Regions from separate parts of the Homo sapiens genome. Here region 1 is linked to region 2. Evidence: promoter capture Hi-C in 16 types of primary human blood cells and fetal thymus (Javierre and others, 2016). All regions are on one chromosome and are shown on one strand. Each heading gives the region's core, a stretch centred on a gene start or on the middle of the fragment in contact. The rest is flanking DNA. Distances are from core to core; before and after follow the strand shown.

The links. The method cuts DNA at HindIII sites, captures the fragments that hold promoters and counts their contacts. A CHiCAGO score of 5 or more calls a contact.
Region 1: a contact is called between a fragment that was not itself captured here and the fragment with the promoter of VPS35L in region 2, in 1 of 17 cell types (total CD4 T cells). The highest score is 5.2, in total CD4 T cells.

The regions. Positions count from the first base shown.
Region 1 is chr16:20,376,621-20,381,992 of GRCh38, reverse strand. The region is part of intron 3 of PDILT (protein disulfide isomerase like, testis expressed); the gene reads left to right. Among named protein-coding and RNA genes, the nearest start is that of PDILT, 25 kb to the left of the region's middle. The HindIII fragment of the contact is 9,970 bases long and covers 1-5,372 here.
Region 2 is chr16:19,551,868-19,557,760 of GRCh38, reverse strand. It overlaps VPS35L (VPS35 endosomal protein sorting factor like), which reads right to left and starts at 2,058. Exons shown (of 31, transcript NM_020314.7): 1 at 2,015-2,058. The coding sequence starts at 2,031. CCP110 (centriolar coiled-coil protein 110) reads right to left here. Exons shown (of 14, transcript NM_001323572.2): 14 at 4,353-5,893. RefSeq lists enhancers at 1,374-1,603, 1,462-2,424, 1,984-2,463. The HindIII fragment of the contact is 7,423 bases long and covers 1,277-5,893 here.

The DNA of each region.
Region 1 (5,372 bases), core at 2,662-5,161, 820 kb before region 2:
CAGGAATTTGTGACTGCAGTGAGCCATGATTGCACCACTGCACTTCAGCCTGGGTGACAGAGTGAGATCCTGTCTCTAAATTTTAAAATAATAATAATAAAAGTTTTAGATTTTGAATACAATGGAATTGGAAGCACCCACTGCAGGTGGGCATAGGGTAAAGTACCCACCCATATTTCTGCTGGGCTTGCTTCCTCAGTATTACTTCTAACCAGAGAAAGGGCAAAGGGAATGCCAGGATGAAGCTGGGACAGGGATTGAGGATGCCTGGATTTTAGGATGAGCAGTAACCATGGGAACTTCAACGAGCCTTTTACAACCAGGCTTCCAATTTCTCTTTTTTTTTTTTTTTTTTTTTGAGATGGAGTCTCACTGTTTTGCCAGGCTGGAGTGCAGTGGTGCGATCTCGGCTCACTGCAACCTCCGCCTCCCGGGTTCAAGTGATTGTCTTGCATTAGCCTCCCGAGTAGCTGGGACTACAGGCATGTGCCACCACTCCCAGCTAATTTTTAGTATTTTTAGTAGAGATGGGGTTTCACCATGTTGGCCAGGATGGTCTCAATCTCTTGATTTCATGATCCACCTGTCTCGGCCTCCCAAAGTGCTGGGATTACAGGTGTGAGCCACCGCACCCGGCCCAATTTCTCATTTTCTAAACAGGATGAGTAAGGCCAGTTCTGCCTACTTGCCAGGGCTCCTCTGAGCTGAGAGGAGACAGTGCTTTACGCATCTTCTGCAATGTGACTTTGATGAAAACTCCTCTTAGGACACTGGTGGGATTTAGTCCTTGCAGGGTCAAAGCCCCAGTCCCATTCTCATCTAATCTCCAAGGATTGATGGCAGGAGACTTGGCCATGGCCATTGCTCTGGAAGGAGGGAGACTCAGGTTGCCTCTAGGCCTCTATTAATGATGCAGCCACAGTCTGTGCCTGGAAATATGCAGCCCAGTGCTGGTCCTAGTCAATCATTGACATTGCATTCACACCTCAGTTGTCACCGTGTCCTCTGGCACAGAGCCAAGCACCAAAGGAGGTCCCTGACAAGGGCAGTGCCTGATCTGCAGGCACAAAGGAATCAACAATTTGCAGAGTTCATAACTACCTCGGTCCCACAGGGGCCAGAGGGGCAAATGGAGCTCACACGTCCCCAAGAAGATGGCCCAAGATCAAGTTTCCTCAAGCCAGCTTCCCTGATGATTCATTCAGCCCATTCATTCATTCTAGAAAGATTTCTTAAGCATCTACTATGTGCCAGGCATTACAGGAGCTTACTGGGAGCTCACACTGAACAAGCTAGTGAAAAATCATTCTAATAATTTCAAGAAGGGATAGACTCAATGAAGAAAATAGGGTAGCTCGGCTGGGCACGGTGGCTCACGCCTGTAATCCCAGCACTTTGGGAGGCCAAGGCGAGTGGATCACGAAGTCAGGAGTTCAAGACCAGCTTGGCCAAGATGGTGAAACCCCATCTCTACTAAAAATACAAAAAATTAGCTGGGTGTGGTGGCGGGCACCTGTAATCTCAGCTACTCCGGAGGCTGAGACAGAGAATTGCTTGAACCCAGGAGGCAGAGGTTGCAGTGAACTGAGATCACACCACCGCACTCCAGCCTGGGCAACAGAGTGAGACTCCATCTCAAAAAAAAGAAAAAAAGAAAAAGAAAATAAAAGAAAAGAAAATAGAACAGGTCATAAGACAGAGAGTGATTGGCTAAAAGAAAAGAAGAACCAACTGAGAATTGAACAGGCAGAAGAAGGCACTGCCCTTGAAGAGCTGAGGAAAGGGCAGCCCATCAGGAGGGACAAGCCAAGGCTGAAGCCAGTGTTCTGGAAGATAACTGTAACGTTGGAGTGTGGAAAGGGCAGAGGGTGGCACAAAGTGACATCAGAGCAATGGTTCTGATGACCTGAAATTTAAATTCATTTGGCAGGTTTTGTTTTTGGATATTTTCAGATTTTGTAAATCAATTCCTTTTGGATCACTTACAATATACTTTTGCCAGACAAAAGCATATAAGAGAAACCATTTGTTTCCAAGTGTGACTTATTTTTACCTAAAGATGGCTGGAAACACTGTACAGAAACTCAGTGTTGAGGCTGATATCTCAGAGGAGGGAATTACAGCAGATGTGGGGTACCAAGGTCTGAGGGTGGCATGATGCCTCCTCCTTCTCTCTTCTCTTGAAGCCACCATATCAGCTTCACATGAATTTCCATAGGTTTGACTCATTGTGGCTTTTAACATGACCTTAACTATATCTACTAAAGTTGAACATGGCATCTGCTATGACCAGAAATTCTCCTGCTGGCTATACACCCAACAGAAGTGCATACAGTGTGCCCCAGAGACATGCACAAGAATTCATTCAGAATAGCCCCAGCCGGGCATGGTGACTCATGCCTGGAATCCCAGCATTTTGGGAGGCTAAGGTGGGAGAATTGCTTGAGCCCAGGAGTTCGAGACTGGCCTGGGCAACATAGCAAAACCTCGTCTCTACTAAAAATTGCTTAAAAATTAGCCAGGTGTGGGCTGGGCGTGGTGGCTCATGCCTGTAATCCCAGCACTTTGGGAGGCTGAGGCGGGAGGATCACCTGGAGTTCGAGACCAGCCTGGCCAACATGGTGAAACCCTGTCTCTACTGATACTAAAAAATTAGTGGGGTGTGGTGGCACGTGCCTGTAGTCCCAGCTATTCGGGAGGCTGAGCCAGGAGAATCACTGGAACCCGGGAGGCAGAGGTACGGTGAGCCAAGATTGAGCCCTTACACTCCAGCCTGGGCAACAGAGCAAGACTCTGTCTCAAAAAATAAAAATTAGCCAGGTGTGGTGGTACATGCCTGTAGTCCCAGCTACTCAGGGGGCTGAGGTGGGAGGATGGCTTGAGCCTGGGAGATCGAGGCTGCAGTAAGCCACGACTACACCACTGCACTCTAGCCTGGGTGACAGAAGGATAAACTGTCTCAAAAAAAAAAAATGCCCTAAAATGAGAGCAACTAAATGCCCATTAGCAGAGAATGGACAAATAAGTTGTGGGATATTCACAGCAGTGGAAATGAATCTTCAAGTACATGAAAAACTGTGGCTGAATCTCACAAACATAATGAAACCAGAGCCAAGAACATTTATATGAAGTTCAGGAACAGGCAGACTAATGTAATCTGTTACAAGTTAAGGTGGCAATGGAATACTACAAAGCCATAAAAAGGAATGAGATCGTGTCCTTTGCGGGGACATGGATGAAGCTGGAAGTCATCATTCTCAGCAAACTAACACAGGAACAGAAAACCAAACACACTCACTCATAAGTGGGAGTTGAACAATGAGAACACATGGACACAGGGAGGGGAACATCACACATTGGGGCCTGTCTGGGAGTGGAGGGCGAGGGAAGGGAGAGCATTAGGACAAATACCTAATGCACGCGGGGCTTAAAGCCTAGGTGATGGGTTGATAGGTACAGCAAAGCACCGTGGCACATGTATACCTATGTAACAGACCTGCATGTTCTACACATGTATCCCAGAACTTAAGGTAAAATAAAAAGAAGAAGAAGGAGAAGAAGAGGAAGAGGAAGCAGAAGAAGAACAAGAAGGAGAAGAAGGAGAAGAAGAAGTAGTTAGAGTGGTGGTTACTTTTGGATTGAGGGGAGTAGAGGCTGGGAGTGGGCACAACAGGGACTGCTGAGGATCTGGTGATGTTCTAGTTCTCGATTTGGGTTGTAGTCACACAAGTGTGTTCGTTTTGTAAAAATCCATCTAACCATACATTATCATTTATGCACCTTTCTGCATGTAAATATACTTTATTATAAGTTTTTGAAAAGCCTTCATGTTCTCATGAAATAAAACAAATATAACGAAGGTAGAGCCTTTGCAGTTGATTTAGTAGCTCAGGGTGCATTCATCCAGCCTCAGGTAGCAATTTGTCCTGCTGCAGGACTTTGTATAGGCTGTTTCTCCTAGAAGACTTTCCCTCTCCTTAATGCCTCCTAGTTAACTCCAGAGCATTCTTTTCTTTCTTTCTTTTTTTTTTTCTTTTTAAAGACAGAGTCTTGCCCTATCTCCCGCGCAGGAGTGCGGTGGTGCGAACTTGGCTCACTGCAACCTCCACCTCCTGGGTTCAAGCGATTCTCCTGCCTCAGCCTCCCAAGTAGCTGGGATTACAGGCGTGTGCCACCATGCCTGGATAATTTTTTGTATTTTTAGTAGAGATGGGGTTTCACTGTGTTAGCCAGGATTGTCTCGATCTCCTGACCTTGTGATCCGCCCTCCTCGGCCTCCCAAAGTGCTGGGATTACAGGCATGAGCCACTGCGCCTGGCCCAGTGCATTCTTTATTTTACAGCTCATCCATAATTTCCTCCAGGAAGTCCTCCTTGACTTCACAGTCTAAGTCAGGCATCTTTGCTACAGACTCGCAGAACTTTGATTTCAAACATTTCCTTTGGGTGTAATGATGCCCTTGTTCATGCATTTATTTGATTGTTGTCTTCCTCGACAGAATGAGAGCTGTGAAATGGTGGTAATGTGTTTGTTTCTGTTCATCCTTATATCTCCAGGGCTGAGTACAGCACTTGATAGTAAGCACTCGGTACATATTTGCCAAGTAAATAAATGAGGGAAGAAATAAATGAGTGCGTAAATGAATAACAGTCTGTGGATGTAGTTCAAAGCTACTCACAACGAATATTGCTTTATCTCATAAATTTATTTATTTATTTTAGAGACAAGGTCTCACTCTGTCTCCCAGGCTGATTGTAGCTCACTGCAGCCTTGAACTCCTGGGCTCAAGCAATCCTTCTGCCTCAGCCTCCCAAGTAGCCGGGACTACAGACACATGCCACCATGCCTGGCTAATTTTCTTTTGTTTTTTGTAGAGCTGAGTGTCTCGCTATGTTGCCCAGACTGGTCCCAAACTCCTGGCCCCAAGTGATTCTCCTGCGTTAGTCTCCCAAAGTGCTGGGAAATAGGCATAGGCCACCATGCTTAGCTCATAAACTTATTTAAAATGTTCAGTTTTAATGTTCTATAGCAGATACAAATATATAATATTTTACATTACTTTCCATCATGTGAAACTGATAATCCTAGAAAAACACACGTTCACCTGTGTATAGCCTTCTGTACCTTCTGGCTCACCAATTTGTCTTCCCAGATATAGTATATGTGTCTTAATTTTGGAAGCTAAGACTTTTGTGTGCTTGACACCAACCATGCTATAGCTGAGAAATGGCAGTCAGGAGTGGATGACCTTAAAGGGCATTTGGATCTCAGCTGAGGAATGGGGGCTGCAGGAAGATAATAGGATTTTCCCAAGGTTACAGAGCTATGTGGTCTTTCCAGTTATATTTTATTGAGATTTTAAAATATAAATC
Region 2 (5,893 bases), core at 809-3,308:
TAACTTTTAAGGAGCAAGAAGTCTATTAGGGAAACTGAAAGATGAATGCATACTTCAAAAGGAAATGTTCAGAGCACGGGCCGGGTGTGGTAGCTCACGCCTGTAATCCCAGCACTTTGGGAACCCGAGGTCGGCGGATCACTTAAGGTCAGGAGTTCGAGACCAGCCTGGCCAACATGATGAAACACCGTCTCTACTAAAAATACAAAAATTAGCCTGGTGTGGTGGCATCGCCTGTAATCCCAGCTACTCGGGAGAGTGAGGCAAAGAATCACTTGAGCCGGGAGGCGGAGGTTGCGGTGAGCCAAGATCACGCCACTGCAATCAAGCCTGGGCGAGACTCCGTCTCAACAAAAACAACAACAACAAAATATTTAGAGCACGGCCATATTAGGAACTATAGAGACCCTAAATACTAAAAGCGTTATGGCACCTGTTTGCCTGCTTGTAATATAAAATTAAAATTCCAAAGGTAGAAATGTACTGGGATGCAGAGATTAAGACAGCATCTTCCTGGATTTTCTGATTGCAAACTTCAGATAAATCCACTGAAGTCAAATGTTTCTCATGTTTTTGGTTAGCTTTTTGGTCAAGCCAGCATGACTTTTTCATTTTTTATTATTATTTTTTTGAGACAGAGTCTCACTGTTGCCCAGGCTGGAGTGCAGTGGCATGATCTCGGTTCACTCCAGCTTCCGCCTCCCAGGTTCAAGCGACTCTCCTGCCTCACCCTCCCAAGTAGCTGGGATTACAGGTGCGTGCCACCACTAATTTAGCCCAGCTAATTTTTGTATTTTTAGTAGAGATTAGGTTTCGCCATGTTGGCCAGGCTGGTCTCGAACCCCTGACCTCAGGTGATCCGCCAGCCTCGGCCTCCCAAAGTGCTGGGATTACAGGCGTGAGCCACCATACCCAGCCAGCATGACTATTAACTGAAAAAAAAAAAAAAACCTCAGGGTGTGGAAGTGCTCAGAGGCATTCAATGCTGATGTAGCGTGTCAAGGAAGCAGTCTCTTAAGTGTTGGGCAAATGAAAGGAATAAGACAAAATGAAGTGTTTATCAAGCTCAAAAGCAGAAGGTTGTACCTGATTATTTCTAAGGTCTTTCATTTGCTCATTTAATCTAAGCTACTTCACATCATTTGAAGAGAAAGTAAATTATCTCGCTTTCTGAGATGCAGGAGAGATTCCCCGTCCCCAAATCCCACTATCATCAACAACACAACTTCCTCAAGTTCTTCACTCACACACATACCACCTGCTGAACCCTGAAGCTTCAGTCACTCATTCCTAGCTACTCCAACCACAAGGGACCTACGGGCCTGCCAACCAGGCACACGCCACGCCCTCCCTATGGTGGACTCCTATTCATCCTCCAAGACCCAATTTAACTCCTCCTCTCTGAAGCCTTCCCCTAGCCCCCTGGTGGGGATAATCACTCCCTTCTTGGTGCCTCATCCGAATGCCTTCTTTAGACATCCCTCTACTGTGCGTCTGCCCCATTATACTGTCAGCTCCTTGAGGCCAAGGAATAAGTCTGAGGGCTGTGCCTAGGATAGGATGAATGGCGGCCATTTTACAGATGAGAAAAGCAAGTCTCCAGGTGAACAGAGGAGCTGAGGAAACTGACCAACAGCCAGATCTCCCGACTCGTCCAGACTTTAAAAGCTGAGTCCACCATTACCCTCATCCAGCGACCCCAGAACCCGCGCCAACTTCTGGGGACGCGGAAGCCTGGAAACTCAAGTTTTCTTTAGGGAATGAATGGACAGGGGCCCGTGGAAGGCGCAGAGAGGCAGCAGACGGGGAGAGAACCAAGAACCCGCCAGTCTGGCTTCAGATTGCTCCGCTGGACCGCGGTAGCGGCCAGGGATTCTACGGTCAAGACAACTTGGGGGTGGCCGGTCGACCACCAGAACCCGACAGAGAGGAATTCACACTCTCAGACCCAGGCCGACCCCATCACAAGTAAGGACAGCCCCTCTCCAAAGCCCACCCGCCGCTGCTTCCTTACCAAGGAAAGACGGCCATCTTCCCAGTCACATGACCGCTTGTTCTGGGGCCGTCTGCTCGGCTTCCCATCCTTACCCCGCCACTCCCCGCACCCCTCGGCCGCCATGTTTGTGAAGGGCAGCTGGCCGCCCCGCAGCGGCCGCACAGCACCTTCTGCAGACGCCATGCTTGTGAGGGGCAGGCGACGCTCCGCACAGCACAGGCTTCATTTTCAGCTGACGCCATGCTTGTGAGGGGCAGCTCCCCGCTCCGGACAGCCCGGGTTACAACTCCCGCCGGCGCCATGCTTCGGAGGAGCAACGTCGGCCACGGCCAGAGTGCCGTAGTTTCTATGAGTCATGATTGTAAAGGGCAGCTGTCTACAGTGCCGGGTGGTCCCGCCTGCGGGCGTCATGATGGTAAAGGGCATGACTGCTGCTTAGCTCACCTGCGTCCTCTAGGGGCAGAAAGGACTCCAGAAGGCGGCGGAGCGAAGACGCAAACTGAGGTTCAGCCAGTACCTGGTTTTGCGGCTAATACGCTGTTTGGCGTGGGACAGCCATGCCCCCTCTAGGCCGCTGCTTTACCCACTGCTTTGCGGGCGGTTTTAGACACTTGCAGAATGCCCTTCCCACGACTAGCAACCGAGGGCTGCCCTAGATCTAATATGATTGACTACAGCTAATGCACGTGGGGAAATTAGGGTTCGCATTTCGTCCAACTTGGCAAAGCAGTGTTTCTAGGAAGGTGGATATCCATTTCGACCACAGAACGTTTTTAAAAATTATTTTAGGCCGGGAGCGGTGGCTCAGGCCTATGATCCCAGAACTTCGGGAGGCCGAGGTGGGTGGTTCACCTGATGTCAGGAGTTCGGGACCAGCCTGGCCAACATGGTGAAACCCCGTCTCTACTAAAAAATACAAAAACTAGTTGGGTATGGTGGCGGGCGCCTGTAATCCCAGCTACTCGGGAGGCTGAGGCAGGAGAATTGCTCCAACCCGGGAGGATGAGGTTGCAGTGAGCCGAGATTGCGCCATTGCACTCCAGCCTGGGCTACAAGAGCGAAACTCCATCTCAAAAAAAAATTTTTTTTTTAATTATTACTTTTATAACTTACTTAGATATCCATTATGGTCCCTTAGAGAGAAAGCATTCGATGTTTTTATAACTCTTACTTTTCATTCGGGGGTGGTGGTCTGTGGTTGTTCATGAGATGGTGACCTATGACAGGGAAAAGGATCATCTCCAGAACGGGCCCTCCAGTGTTCAGCTCAGTATGAGTAGGAAAGTATATCCACTCGTACCTGCTATTCCCAACACTGGAAGTGAACAAGGGTTAAAGGGTGGCCACGGGAAAGCAAGGAGCTCTTCCCATACAGCCATGCATGTTATCACATGCAACATCTCAATAAGAGGTCAAGGTGAGGAGCCTTTTCCTAGGCTCACACTGCATGATTAGGCAGTAACAAGAGGAGGATTCTTAAAGTTGTGCAAATTAACAGCTTTGATGTGAGCTTCAACCTTCGCATTCTCTTTTCTCCCTCTCCTTCCCTTAGCAGGCTTCTATCTCTTAATAAGTTAAGACATTTCCAGCCTGAGTTTTACCTTCTGAAAAGTCCAACTTTTAGTAGAGACGGGGTTTCACTATGTTGGCCAGGCTGGTCTCAAACTCCTGACCTCAGGTGATCCTCCCGCCTTGGCCTCCCAAAGTGTTGGGATTACAGGCGTGAGCCACTGCACCTGGCCCAGGGGACATATTAAATAATGAGATATATCTTTCATGGAACTTGTAAAGAATGATTATATACAATATTTGTTTTGGCCTAATACTTTTCAATATCTGTTTCTTTTTTCTTTTTTGTTTTGGAGACAAAGTCTCATTCAGGCTGGAGTGCAGTGGTGCGATTATAGCTCACTGCCACCTGTAACTCCTGGGTTCAAGTGATCCTCCTGCCTCAGCCTCCAGCGTACCTAGGACTACAGATGTGAACCACCATGCCTGGCTAATATCGGTTTCTTTTTTGTTTTGTTTTGAGATGGAGTCTTGCTCTGTCACCCAGGCTGCAGTGCAGTGGCACAATCTCGGCTCACTATAGCCTCCCCATCCCAGGCTCAGGCGATTCTCCTGCTTCAGCCTCCCAAGTAGCTGGAACTACAGGCATGCACCACTACGCCCAGCTAATTTTGTATTTTTAGTAGAGACGGGGTTTCACCATGTTAGCCAGGCTGATCTCAAACTCCTGATCTCATGATCCACCCACCTTGGCCTCCCAAAGTGCTAGAATTACAGGCATGAGCCACCATGCCCGGCCTATTTCTTAATAGTCCTTCCCCTGGTAAATAAAAACAATCAAACTAGATTTTCTTTAAGATGAAAAGTTTATTTTGCTTTTTGCCTAGAAGCAAAACTAGTGAAAATAAAAGTATAAAAATAAATACAATTTACATTAATGAACATTCCACTCAAAGTAAAAATAAGCAAAAAAAGTATATAAATAAAAATCCATCAAAAGCACAAACAGTGTCTGGCACCTGTATGAGAAGAAGCTATGAACACCAAAAAAGAATGTGTAAAACACAGGCTTTTATCTTTAAATTAAAAACACTCAAGTTTCTCATCCTTACTCTAAAGCTAGTTTTAACTTTCTCCAAAACTATTTGTTTTAACTAATTTGCATTACACACACAAAAAGTGCACAAAACTTTTAGCATCTTTCTTACTGGAGAGACCCACAATGCTATGAATAAGCTGTATCCTGAGTTTTCAGAATGATAAAGCACAGTTTATCATATTAAGAAGACAATTTGATACTTTGCCTATAAATTTTAAAAAATTGGTAACTTGGACTTTTTTTGACCATCTTCTAATTTTCTGGTTCACTCATTCAATACATGATACATCTCAATAAAGAAAATCAAGTTTACACCCAGGGTGGCTTATTATTTCTGTCTATAGCTGGATGTCAAAGTTAAATTTAAAATGGCACAGAAAATTGGAGAAAACAATCTTCATCTCCATATTCTTAAAAGGATATTAAGAATATATATAGGTTGCATTTTCAAAATACCAGTATCTCTTTAAAATTTAAATTAGATTAAATATACACTGTCTCAATTTTATGTGAAAAGCACAAAGCCCTTTTTGGAAATGGTATGATAAATTAATAGTGACATTCTCCCTCATGAAGTCACGTTATCTTGGTAACATTTGTTGGTTGATACTTTTTTTTTTTTTTTTTTTTGAGACAGTGTCTTGCTCTGTTAACCCGACTGGAGTGCAATGGCACAGTCTCAGCTCACTGCAACCTCTGCCTCCCAGGTTCAAGCAATTCGCCTGTCTCAGCCTCCCAAGTAGCTGGAACTACAGGCATGCACCACCATGCCTAATTTTTGTATTTTCAGTACAGATGGGGTTTCGCCATGTTTGGTCAGGCTGGTCTCAAACTCCTGACCTCAGGTGATCCACCCACCTTGGCCTCACAAAATGCTGGGAGTACAGGCGTGAGCCACCCTGCCTGGCCAGTTGATACTTTTAATGGATATGTTAGTGATGAAAAATCTTAAACATGGGTGTCTTTAAGCAATGCAGAATTTTAACCAGGCAATATTCTTATCCGGAAATCTGGATTTATTATTATATAGCCCTTTATTCTCTCCTAAATCAAGCATGCTAGAAAAAACAGACTATGAAGAACAAAATATACAGACTAAATAGAAAATATAACTGCATGCAACATATTATTATGTTACAGAAATGGATGTAATAATGCATTCCCAAGAGCTACATTCAAGAAGATTGTGCTGTCTTCCCCAAATTTGTTACCTGTCACAGAAAGATCTTATAACCTAGTACAAATGTTTCTAACAGTACTGGGGTAACATACATGAAGCCTAACATTTC